Linked DNA regions of Homo sapiens: regions 1 and 2 are each linked to region 3. The links are contacts of gene promoters, found by promoter capture Hi-C in human tissues and cell types (Jung and others, 2019). All regions are on one chromosome and are shown on one strand. The core of a region is centred on a gene start or on the middle of the fragment in contact, and the rest is flanking DNA. Distances in the headings are between cores, read along the strand shown.

What was found. The method cuts DNA at HindIII sites, captures the fragments that hold promoters and counts their contacts. A contact is called where the count stands out against the background at its distance.
Region 1: a fragment that was not itself captured here is called in contact with the fragment with the promoter of GPRIN2 in region 3 in 3 of the 25 tissues and cell types used here (liver, spleen and stomach).
Region 2: a contact is called between a fragment that was not itself captured here and the fragment with the promoter of GPRIN2 in region 3, in 11 of the 25 tissues and cell types used here (H1 embryonic stem cells, IMR-90 fibroblasts, bladder and 8 more).

What each region holds. Positions count from the first base shown.
Region 1 is chr10:46,590,449-46,593,626 of GRCh38, forward strand. It overlaps SYT15 (synaptotagmin 15), which reads left to right. Exons shown (of 8, transcript NM_031912.5): 8 at 1-1,616. All of the region lies in intron 1 of SYT15-AS1 (SYT15 antisense RNA 1), which reads right to left. Among named protein-coding and RNA genes, the nearest start is that of SYT15-AS1, 6.1 kb to the right of the region's middle. The HindIII fragment of the contact is 7,676 bases long and covers 1-3,178 here.
Region 2 is chr10:46,505,494-46,508,619 of GRCh38, forward strand. No RefSeq gene overlaps it. Among named protein-coding and RNA genes, the nearest start is that of NPY4R, 41 kb to the left of the region's middle. The HindIII fragment of the contact is 6,119 bases long and covers 1-3,126 here.
Region 3 is chr10:46,555,408-46,558,757 of GRCh38, forward strand. It overlaps GPRIN2 (G protein regulated inducer of neurite outgrowth 2), which reads right to left and starts at 1,251. Exons shown (of 3, transcript NM_001385282.1): 1 at 1,091-1,251. RefSeq lists enhancers at 582-1,287, 1,993-2,698. The HindIII fragment of the contact is 19,539 bases long and covers 1-3,350 here.

The sequences.
Region 1 (3,178 bases), core at 276-2,775, 35 kb after region 3:
TAAAAGTGATCCAGATCATAAAGAAAGAAGTAAAACTATATCTGCACATGACATAATCTTGTCTATGGAAAATCCTAAGGAATCCACACACAAAAAAACTACTAGAGCTAATAAGTTTGGCAAGGTTGCAAGATATAAAATTGGTATACAAATTGCAGTGGCTAGGACCTCCAGCAGAATGCTGACTATAAGTAGTGATAGTGGGTATTCTTGTCTCATCCTCAATCTCAGGGGTGGTGGGTGTGGCATGTGGAGAGTTGTCAATATTCACCATGAAGTTTGATGGTTGTTATAGGATTTTTAATGTACTCATTAACATATATTCTCAAGCTGTTAAAAAGATTTTTTTAATTACAAATAAGGTTAAATTTCTCTCAAATACTTACTCTGCACCTTTTGAAATAATTTTATTTTTCTCCTTTATTCTTTGGATGTGATGACTTATACTAATTGACTGTTGAATGTCAAACCAAACTTAACATTCTTGTAATAGAAACCAGCAGGGTGTGTACACTTTTGTGTGTGTGCGCAGGTTTATACACATAAACACAACAATACTTGGACTTATTTATTTAAAATTTAGATTTATTAGAGGGAGCATGGCCATAAAATAAAATAAAATAAAATTTAGATTTAAGTCGAGCTCAGTGGCTCACATCTATTATCCCCGCACTTTGGAAGGCCAAGGCAGGTAGATTGTCTAAGCTCAGGAATTTGAGACCAACGTGGTGAAACTCGGTCTCTACAAAAACCACAAAAATTAGCCAGGTATGGTGTCACATGCCTGTTGTCCCAGCTACTTGGAGGGCTGGGGCAGGAGTATTGCGTGAGCCCGGGAGGTTAAGGCTGAAGTGAGTCATGTTCACGCCACTGCACTACAGCTTGGATAACAAAGCGAGACTCTGTCTCCAAAAATAAAATAAGTAAATAAATAAATAAATAAAATTTAGATCAATTTGCTGTTATATTTTTATATAAACTATGTTTATGACATAAGTATAAACAAAAAAATAAAATAAGTAAATAAATAAATAAAATTTAGATTAATTTGCTGTTATATTTTTATATAAGCTATGTTTATGACAGACTTTCCTATAATATTCTTATCATAATGTTCTTGCACTTGAAAGAATGTGCATTCTGCAGTTGTGTGCAGGTGTTATGTGTATTTCAACTGGGTCAAGTTTGTTAATCAGGTTGGTCAAATTATCTACATCTTTACTGATATTTTTGTCTGTTTTTCTATAAATTACTGAGAGAGGATAAAGCCTGCCACTGTTATTATGAATTTGTTTATTTCTCCTTTGAGTTTTGTTAGTTTTTGTTTTATGCATTTAGAGGTTGTGTTATTAGGCTCATACCCATTTAAAATTGACGTTTTCTGGTAGAGTGAACCTTTATTATGTGAAATGGCTTTCTCTACCACTCACAATGGTATTTTTTTCACTTTCCCCCTTATTTTTGAATTTTCAATGTTCTTATAATGATGTCATGTCTCTTGAATAGAGTTGTTTTAATCAAGTCTGTCAAATTTTGTCTTTTGTGTATTTCGTGAATTTACATTTATTGTAATTACTGATATAGTTGTGTTCATAAATACCATCTTACTACTTGTTTCCATTTGTCTTACCCATTTTTGTTTTTATTTTTTCTTTTCTGTTGCTTTCTTTCTGATTATTTTTTTAATTCCGTTTCCCCCCCTACCATTGGTTCTACTTACACATTCTTTTATAATTTCTTTAGTGGTTTCCTCCACAGATTACAACTTCTGTACATTATTATAATCTAATACAAATTTTACTTTTTATTGTTTCCCAGACAATGCTATGATCTCACAATACTCAATCTCTATTTACCTCCATTCTACTCTTGCATGTATATTATTATTACTCATTTTAATTTCACATATATTTTACACCTAACGAGACATTATTATTATTGCTATGTGCAGTCAATATTCATTTGTATTCACCCACATATTCACTCTGTTTTTTTTTATTATTTCCTGCATTTCTGTGATTCTATCATAGATCAGTTTTCTTCTACCTGAAGAATTCCCTTTAGTATTTTTTGTGTATGCACATCTGCTGGCAGCAAATTTTCTCAGGTTTTTTTGTGTTTTTTTGTTTGCTTGTTTTTGAGACAGGGTCTCACTCTGTCGCCCAGGCTGGAGTGCAGTGGCATGATCATGGTTCACTGTAGCCTCAACCTCCTAGGTTCAAGCAGTCCTCCCACCTCAGCCTCCCGAGTAGCGGGACTACAGGCAGGCACCACCATACCTGGCTAATTCTTTTGTATTTTTTGTAGAGAAGGGATTTCACCATGTTGCTCAGGCTGGTCTCAAACTCCAGAGCTCAAACAGTCTGCCTGCTTTGACCTCCCAAAGGACTGGGATTACAGGCCACCTCACCCAGCCTTTCTCAGTTTTTGAATAGAAACATCTATTTCAAATTCATTTTTAAGTATATTTTGTGAATATAGGATTACAGGTTGACACTTTTTTCTTTGAGGAACTTCAGAATGGCACTCCATTATCTTCTCACTTCCATCATTTCTGTTGACAAGTGATTTTCAGTGCTATTGTTTCTCCTTTGAGAGTAATGTGTCAGTAACATGCACTGGCTCACGCCCGTCATCCCAGCACCCTTGAGCCCAGGAGTTCAAAACCAGCCCAGGCAACAGAGCAAGATCCCCCCCCTCTACAAAAGAAAATGACAGGAGGGAGGCAGGAAGGAGGAGAGAGGGAGGGAGGGGAAAAGAAAAAAGAAAAGAAGAAATGTGTCCCTCCTACCTGCCTCTAGCTGCTTTTACTGTTTTTTCCTTGTCTTTCATTTGCAGCAGTTTAAGTATAGTGTGCCTGGGTTGGGTGCGGTGGCTCACGCCTATAATCCCAGCAGTTTGGGAGGCCAAGGCCAGTGGATCACCTGAGGTCAGAAGTTTGAGACCAACCTGGCCAACATGGTGAAACCCCGTCTCCACTAAAAAATCCAAAAATTAGCCAGGCATGGTGGCGCGTGCCTGTAATCCCAGCTATTCGGGAGACTGAGGCAGGAGAATCGCTTGACCTTGGGGAGGCGGAGGTTGCAGTGAGCTGAGATCGCGCGCCACCGTACTCCAGCCTGGGTGACAAAGAAAAACTCCGTCTCAAAAAATAATAATAAAAAAAAAGTATAGTGTG
Region 2 (3,126 bases), core at 371-2,870, 50 kb before region 3:
GCAGCAACAACAAAAAAAACATAGATAACATCACATTTAATGGGAAAGACAACATGCTTTCCTTCTAAGATCACAAAAGAAACAAGGATGTCTACTCACCACTTCCATTCAACATCATACTGAAGGTTCCAACTATTGCAATTATATAAGGGAAAAAAAGGCACCCAGATAGGAAAGAAAGATGTAAAATGGTCTCAATTGGCAGATGACACGATTTTTCTATGTAGAAAATCCTAAGCAATTCACAAAAAAATTAAAATATGTAAATGAATTCAGCAAGATTTTAGCACATGAGATCAGTTTGCAAAAATCAATTCTGTTTCTATACACTGTCAATGAACAAGACAAAAATGAAATTAGAAAAATAATTCCATTTACAATAACATCAAAAAATACTTAGGAATAAAGATAACAAAAGAAATCCAAATGGTATATTCCGAAAAATATAAAACATTGTTGAAAGAGGTCTTAAAAGATCAAAATAAATGAAAATACATATCATGTTTTTGGACCAGAAGACTTATTGTTAAAGATAGAAATATCCCAGAGTTAATCTATAAGTTCAATGCAATCTCTATCAAAATCCCAGATGACTTCTTTGCAGAAATTGACAAGGCAATCCTCAAATTTATATGGAAAATCAAGGAATGCAGAATAGCCAAAATAATCTTGAAAAAAGAAAAACGAAGCTGGAGTACTCACGTTTTCCACATTCAAAACTTACTAGAAAGCTACAGTAATCTAAACAGTGTGATACTAGCATAAGAACAGATCAATAAAATAGAACTGAGAGTCCAGAAATAAATCCATGATCTATCTACATACATCTATTGTCAATTAACTTTTTTTTTGAGATGGAGGCTTGCTCTATGGCCCAGGCTGGAGTGCAGTGGTGCTATCTCAGCTCACTGCAACCTCCACCTCCCTGGCTCAAGCAATTCTCTTGCCTCAGCCTCCTAAGTAGCTGGAATTACAGACACACACCACCACACCTGGCTAATTTTTGTATTTTTAGTAGATACGGGGTTTTGCCATGTTGCCCAGCTGGTCTCAAACTCCTGAGCTAAAAGTGATCCGCCTGCCTTGGCCTCCCAAAATGCTGGGATTACATGCATGTGAGCCACCAGGCCCAACTGTATTGTCAATTAATTTTTAACAAGAGTGCCAAGACCATTCAATGGGGGAAATAATAATCAAATAATCTCTTCAACAAATGGTGCTGGAACAACTGGATATCCACATGCAAAAGAATGAAGTTGGACTCCCATCTTACACCATATAGAAAAATTAACTTAAAGCGGGTCAACAACCTACATATAAGAGCTAAAGCCATAAAACTCTTAGAAGAAAACATAGGAGTATATCTTCATAATTTTAGCTTTAGCAATAGAGTCTTAGATATGATACCAGAAGCATGAACAACAAAAGAAGAACTAGATAAATTAGACTTCATAAAAATAGTAAACTTTCGAACATCAAAGAAAATTACCAACAAAGTAAAATCATACATCTAATAAAGGTCTGGTATCCAAAGCATTTAAAGAACTCTTACAGCTCATCAGCAAAAACACACAACTCAATTTTAAAATGGGCAAAGACTTGAATAGACATTTCTCCAAAGAAAATATACAAATGCCAACAAGCACATGAAAAGACACTCAATATTTTTATTAATTAGGGAAATGCAAATCAAAATTGCAATGAGGTACCAATTCACACCCACTGTATATATATGTAATAGGTGGATGGATATATATAATATTTATATATAATTATTTATAATATGTATATATAATAATGTTATTATATGATAAATTATATAATACATATATAATTTATTGATTTGAGACAGGCTCTTGCCATGTTATCCAGGCTGGAGTGCAGTGACACCATCACAGCTCACAGTGGCCTGAACCTCCCAGGATCAAGTGATCCTCCACCTCAGCTTCCTGAGCAGCTAAGAGGTACTACAGGCAGGCATAACCATGCCCTACTAATTTCTTAATTTTTTTGTAGAGACAGGATCTCACTATGTTGCCCAGGCTGGTCTCAAATTCCTGGCCTCAAGCTATCCTCCCAAAGTGCTGGCATTAGAGGCATGAGCCACTGCACCTGACTTAGGATGGATATATTTTTTTCAATGGAAAATAACAAGGGCTAACAAGAATGTAGAAAAATTGGAACCCTCAGACATTGTTGGTGAGAATGTAAAATGGCACAACTGCTGAGAAAAGTTTGGTGATTTCTCAAAAACTTAAATATAGAATTATGGTATGATCAAGCAATTCCACTCCTAGGTATATACCCAGAAGAACTGACACTGACTACTCAAACAAGTACATGTATCTTTATAGCAGCACTATGAACAATAGCCAAAAGGTGGAAACAACCCAAATTTCCATAACAAATGAATGGATAAACAAATTGTGATATACAATGGAATAATAGCCATAAAAAGGAATGATGTACTGATACATGCTGGAACATGGATGAGCTACCAATTTACAGGAAACACAGAGGACAGGGGACATGTTGAATAGCACCATGAGAGTGCAGTCAGCAAAATCCAGACTATTGGAAACTCTACAGATCAAATGACCTGGGTCTTGGGAGGGGGTAGGAAAACCTGTGTATTAACCAACTTTTAAAAGATGTATTTTTATAAAATAAGTGAGATTTAATTATAGGGTGTAGGGATATACATGTGGGTAATAATTAGACTATGAAGCAAAGGAAAGGAGTGTCTACTGTAAGTCAAGGTAGTGGTGACTTTGGAGAAGAGAGTGAGGAGGTGCCTCTGGACAAAGTTCTGTTTCTTAGTCTAGGTGGTGGTTACAAAGCTTTACTCTTGTAAAAATCCATTAAGCCATGCATTTGTTTTATGTGGCTTCTTATAGCTTTGTTTATTTGCAAATAATAACCTGGTTCAGAGATTCTGATTCACAGGGTGTGGGGCAGAGTTCAGGAATGCTTTTAAATTTTCCCGTGTTGTGTGCGCACACACACACACGCATACATATATATCTGTCTTCCACACCAGGCTGGTGCCTGTTTGAGGAAGGTCTGTGGCTTGCCTCAATTTGGACTTCCCAACCTCCAGAACTATAAGAAATAAATTTCTGTTCT
Region 3 (3,350 bases), core at 1-2,500:
AAACCCCCATTGCACAGTGGGGATACAGCACCCTCCAGGAGGTGGTTTAATCCACCCCAGAGTGAACGGGGCCTGATAGGAACACTCAGGGCCAACTCTGGGCAAAGCAGCAGGCAGCATTCCTAAAGGGAGGGTTTGGAGGAGACAAAACCTGCCCTTCACAATGAACGTGCCTTAAGGGCTACATGCCCCGGGTCACAAGCTGTGCCAGGAAAGGGTTCTGGGGTAACTGTGGGGTCAGTGGCCCCATGGATGAGGCTCTGCTCACCAGGAAGAGGCCTAGGCGCCCAACAGCCCCTGAGCTTCCTCCCCTGGGGAGGATTTGCCCACAATCCCTGGGGGGCACCTAGGTGGAGAGGGTGCCCCGGCCTAGAAGCAGCCTAGGCGGCCGGTGTGTCCCTATCTGCACGCTCACAAGCACTCATGCCCCAGCCTGGGACACACAGGCCCGTATGCAGTAACAGCGTCTACCCAGCTGCACTCTGCACGCCAAGCACAGGCCGCCCCTGCTGCGGGGCCAAAGGCCTGAAAGCACCGCACCACGCAGCCTCGCCCAGAATAGCTCCCCTCCCGCCCCTCCTGCACAAAGCCCACCCGGACTTAGGGAGAAGGGGGCTCAATACGGGCCCGAAACGAGGCTACAGACCTTCTCAGGAGCAAAGGCAGCGACTGCAGGCAAATGGGGCTGTGGGCCGGGGTAATGATGCGGGACAGGAGAAGCCAAAGGGCAGCAAGGCTGGGGGCGGGGTAGGCGGCGCAGTAGGCTGAGGGAGGGGAAAAGGAAGAAGGGGAGAGGGAGGAGCGATGGCAGCAGGGGTGGAGGCCGAAGGAGACAGGGTCCCGGACAGACTTGTGAAAATGGGAGGATGGGCAGAGGAGACGTAGAAGAGGGGACAGGACAGGACAATGAGAGGCGGAGCGCGGGGAGTGCGATGCGGCCACCGGGGGCTCTGGGCGCTGGGCAGGGGCCAGGATGCCGGGGGTCTGAGCGCAGGCAGCGGGAAGGAGTGGGTTCTGAGGCTCAGCAAGGGGGAGGTGCCGCCCACCACGCCCCCCGCCCCAACGGGAGCGCGCGGAGCCAGCCTCTCACCCTCTCGCCCGCCGGGGCCGCGCAGGCGGGGGAAGCGCTGCTCCTGCGGCCGCCACAGGTGCCAGGTGCCGCGGCCCAAGATGGAGCCAGAGCCGACCTGGCCTGGGCGCGAGACGCCGCCCGCCGCCGTCGGCCCGGCCCGCGGAGCAAGCGCCGGGTACAGGGAGGGGCCAGCGGGGCAGCTGGCACCGGGGCGGCGGGAGGGGCGGCGGGCGGAGACCTCGCTCACCTGGGCCCGTGCCACTCTGGAGCCTGCCACCGCCCCGCCGCGGCCCGGGATCTGCGTCCGCGCGCCCCCACCCCTCCTTCCCGACCCCTCCTCAGGCCGGGTCCCCACTGTCCTCGGTCTTTTCGGCCCCGCCCGCACCACGACCGCCTGTTCTCCAGGCTGCCCAGCGAACCCCCAAGACTCCCACTTCCCCGACGCAACCCCACCGTCCCGGGTGTATAGGCGCAGCTCCCCACGATTCTCCGGCCCCAGACCCAGCCCCTCAAGTCCACCTCCTCGTAGCCCCACCCCCTCGCTCCAGTGCCCCTCGCTCCAGTTCCCCCTCCGCACCACGCCCCGCATTGAGGTCTCCGCGCCGGCGGCTACCCCTTTCCTCTCGCCTTCTCCATCCTAGCTCCGCCTCTCACAATTCTCTGGCTCCAGATCCCGCCCACGAGACCCCGTTTCCTATAGGGCCCTTTCGTCTGGGATACCAGGCCTGGTCTCCACTAGCCTCGGACTTTCCAGCCCCAGGTCCCAAATCCTGGACCCACCGTCCCATCCTCTGAGCTCCACTCTCATGGACCCCAAACCTCACTCCAGTCCTTTGAACTCCATGATCCTGGCCTGGCCTGGCCCCCGGAGCCCTCCATTGCCCCTCAAGAGCCCAGCCTGGTAGACTCCTTCCCTAGGGTTGCATCTCCAGCCCCGCCCCTGAAGACTGGTAATCTACCACCCCTTTCCCTGCCCACGTGCCCCTACCCAGCCCGACTTGAGGCCTTCAGTCTCCCAGCCGCGGACCCCAACAGCGGGCGAGGGCAGTGACCGTGCGGGGATGAGCCACCTCCACTGGAGCCCGCCTTCTTCTCCGCAATTCCCCGCAGCACCACAGCGCCTTCCCGGTCCCGTGACGCCGGGGGCCAGCCCAGGCCCTGGGATCGCCAGGTTCCACACTATGAGGCTGAGGACCTGGGCCTACGGTTCCCTCAATATCCCCCAGTTTCCACAACCGCTGGCCAGCTTCAGGGCGCAGGACAGGCAGCCCCGGCCTCCCGCCACTCGCAATAGATTCCTGCTGTCCACCCAGGGCCACGTGGTATGAGGCACCTGTACTATCTCTGGGCCCCAGTATCACATAATTGGGTCCCAATGTTGGCACTTCTCCGTTGTCCCCTGTGCCGGGACCCCCAACTTGTTGGCCCAGCCCTGTGCTGAGAGGCCTGCGTTCCTCCCTTCCAGTGCCCAGGAGCCAACAGTATCTCTAATTCTCCCCGTTTGGGTAGCAAAGGACCTCAGTCTGCCCAGAGAGACTCAGACTGCCCCAGGTAGCCCTCTCCAGCGAGGTCTGAGAGCAGCTCTCAGATTCTGGCAGATGGCTGCCTTTGGCCAAATGCCCACAGGGGTGTCGACGTCAGACCCCAGGCTTGGGCCTCACCATCACACACTGCCTGGTAGGGGGATCCTGCTTAAAGGAGGCAAATAGGGGATTTGTTTGCCGAGGCCACTACCCACTTCTGCCCCTGTCCAGGAATTAGGACCTCTGCTTCCACATCTTAGGCATCTTACTCATATTCCCTCTTTAGTGAAGTCAGCTGAGCCCCAAGAAGGGATGGACTGCTTGTGGTTACACTGAGAGTTGGTGCCAGATCCAGGCCCCAAACCTGGGGCTCTCAGCTCCCAGGACATCTCAAGAACCAAGAACCTCACTGTGTGTTTCAAGGAAGCCTTCTTGGGGCTGGGTGTCAGGAGATGTCTGCCATGCAATCTACCTGTGAACACAGCTGGCTGGCCCTCACCCCAGGGCATCACTCCTTGTCCAACTGGCCCCCTTCTTCCATTCATGCCCTGGCAAGGAGGCTCCCCTGGCTGTGGCAGCTGTCCAGGGAGAACCCAGCATGGGGAGTCACACTTAAATTCCAATCTCAACTCCCCCACATATTCACTGGCTGTGCAACCCCACACCCAAGCAAAACTGTTCATCTCTCTGGGCATCAGTTTCCTCATCTGCAGAGTGGTAGTAATTATACCTACCTAACAGGGCTGGGGGAAGAG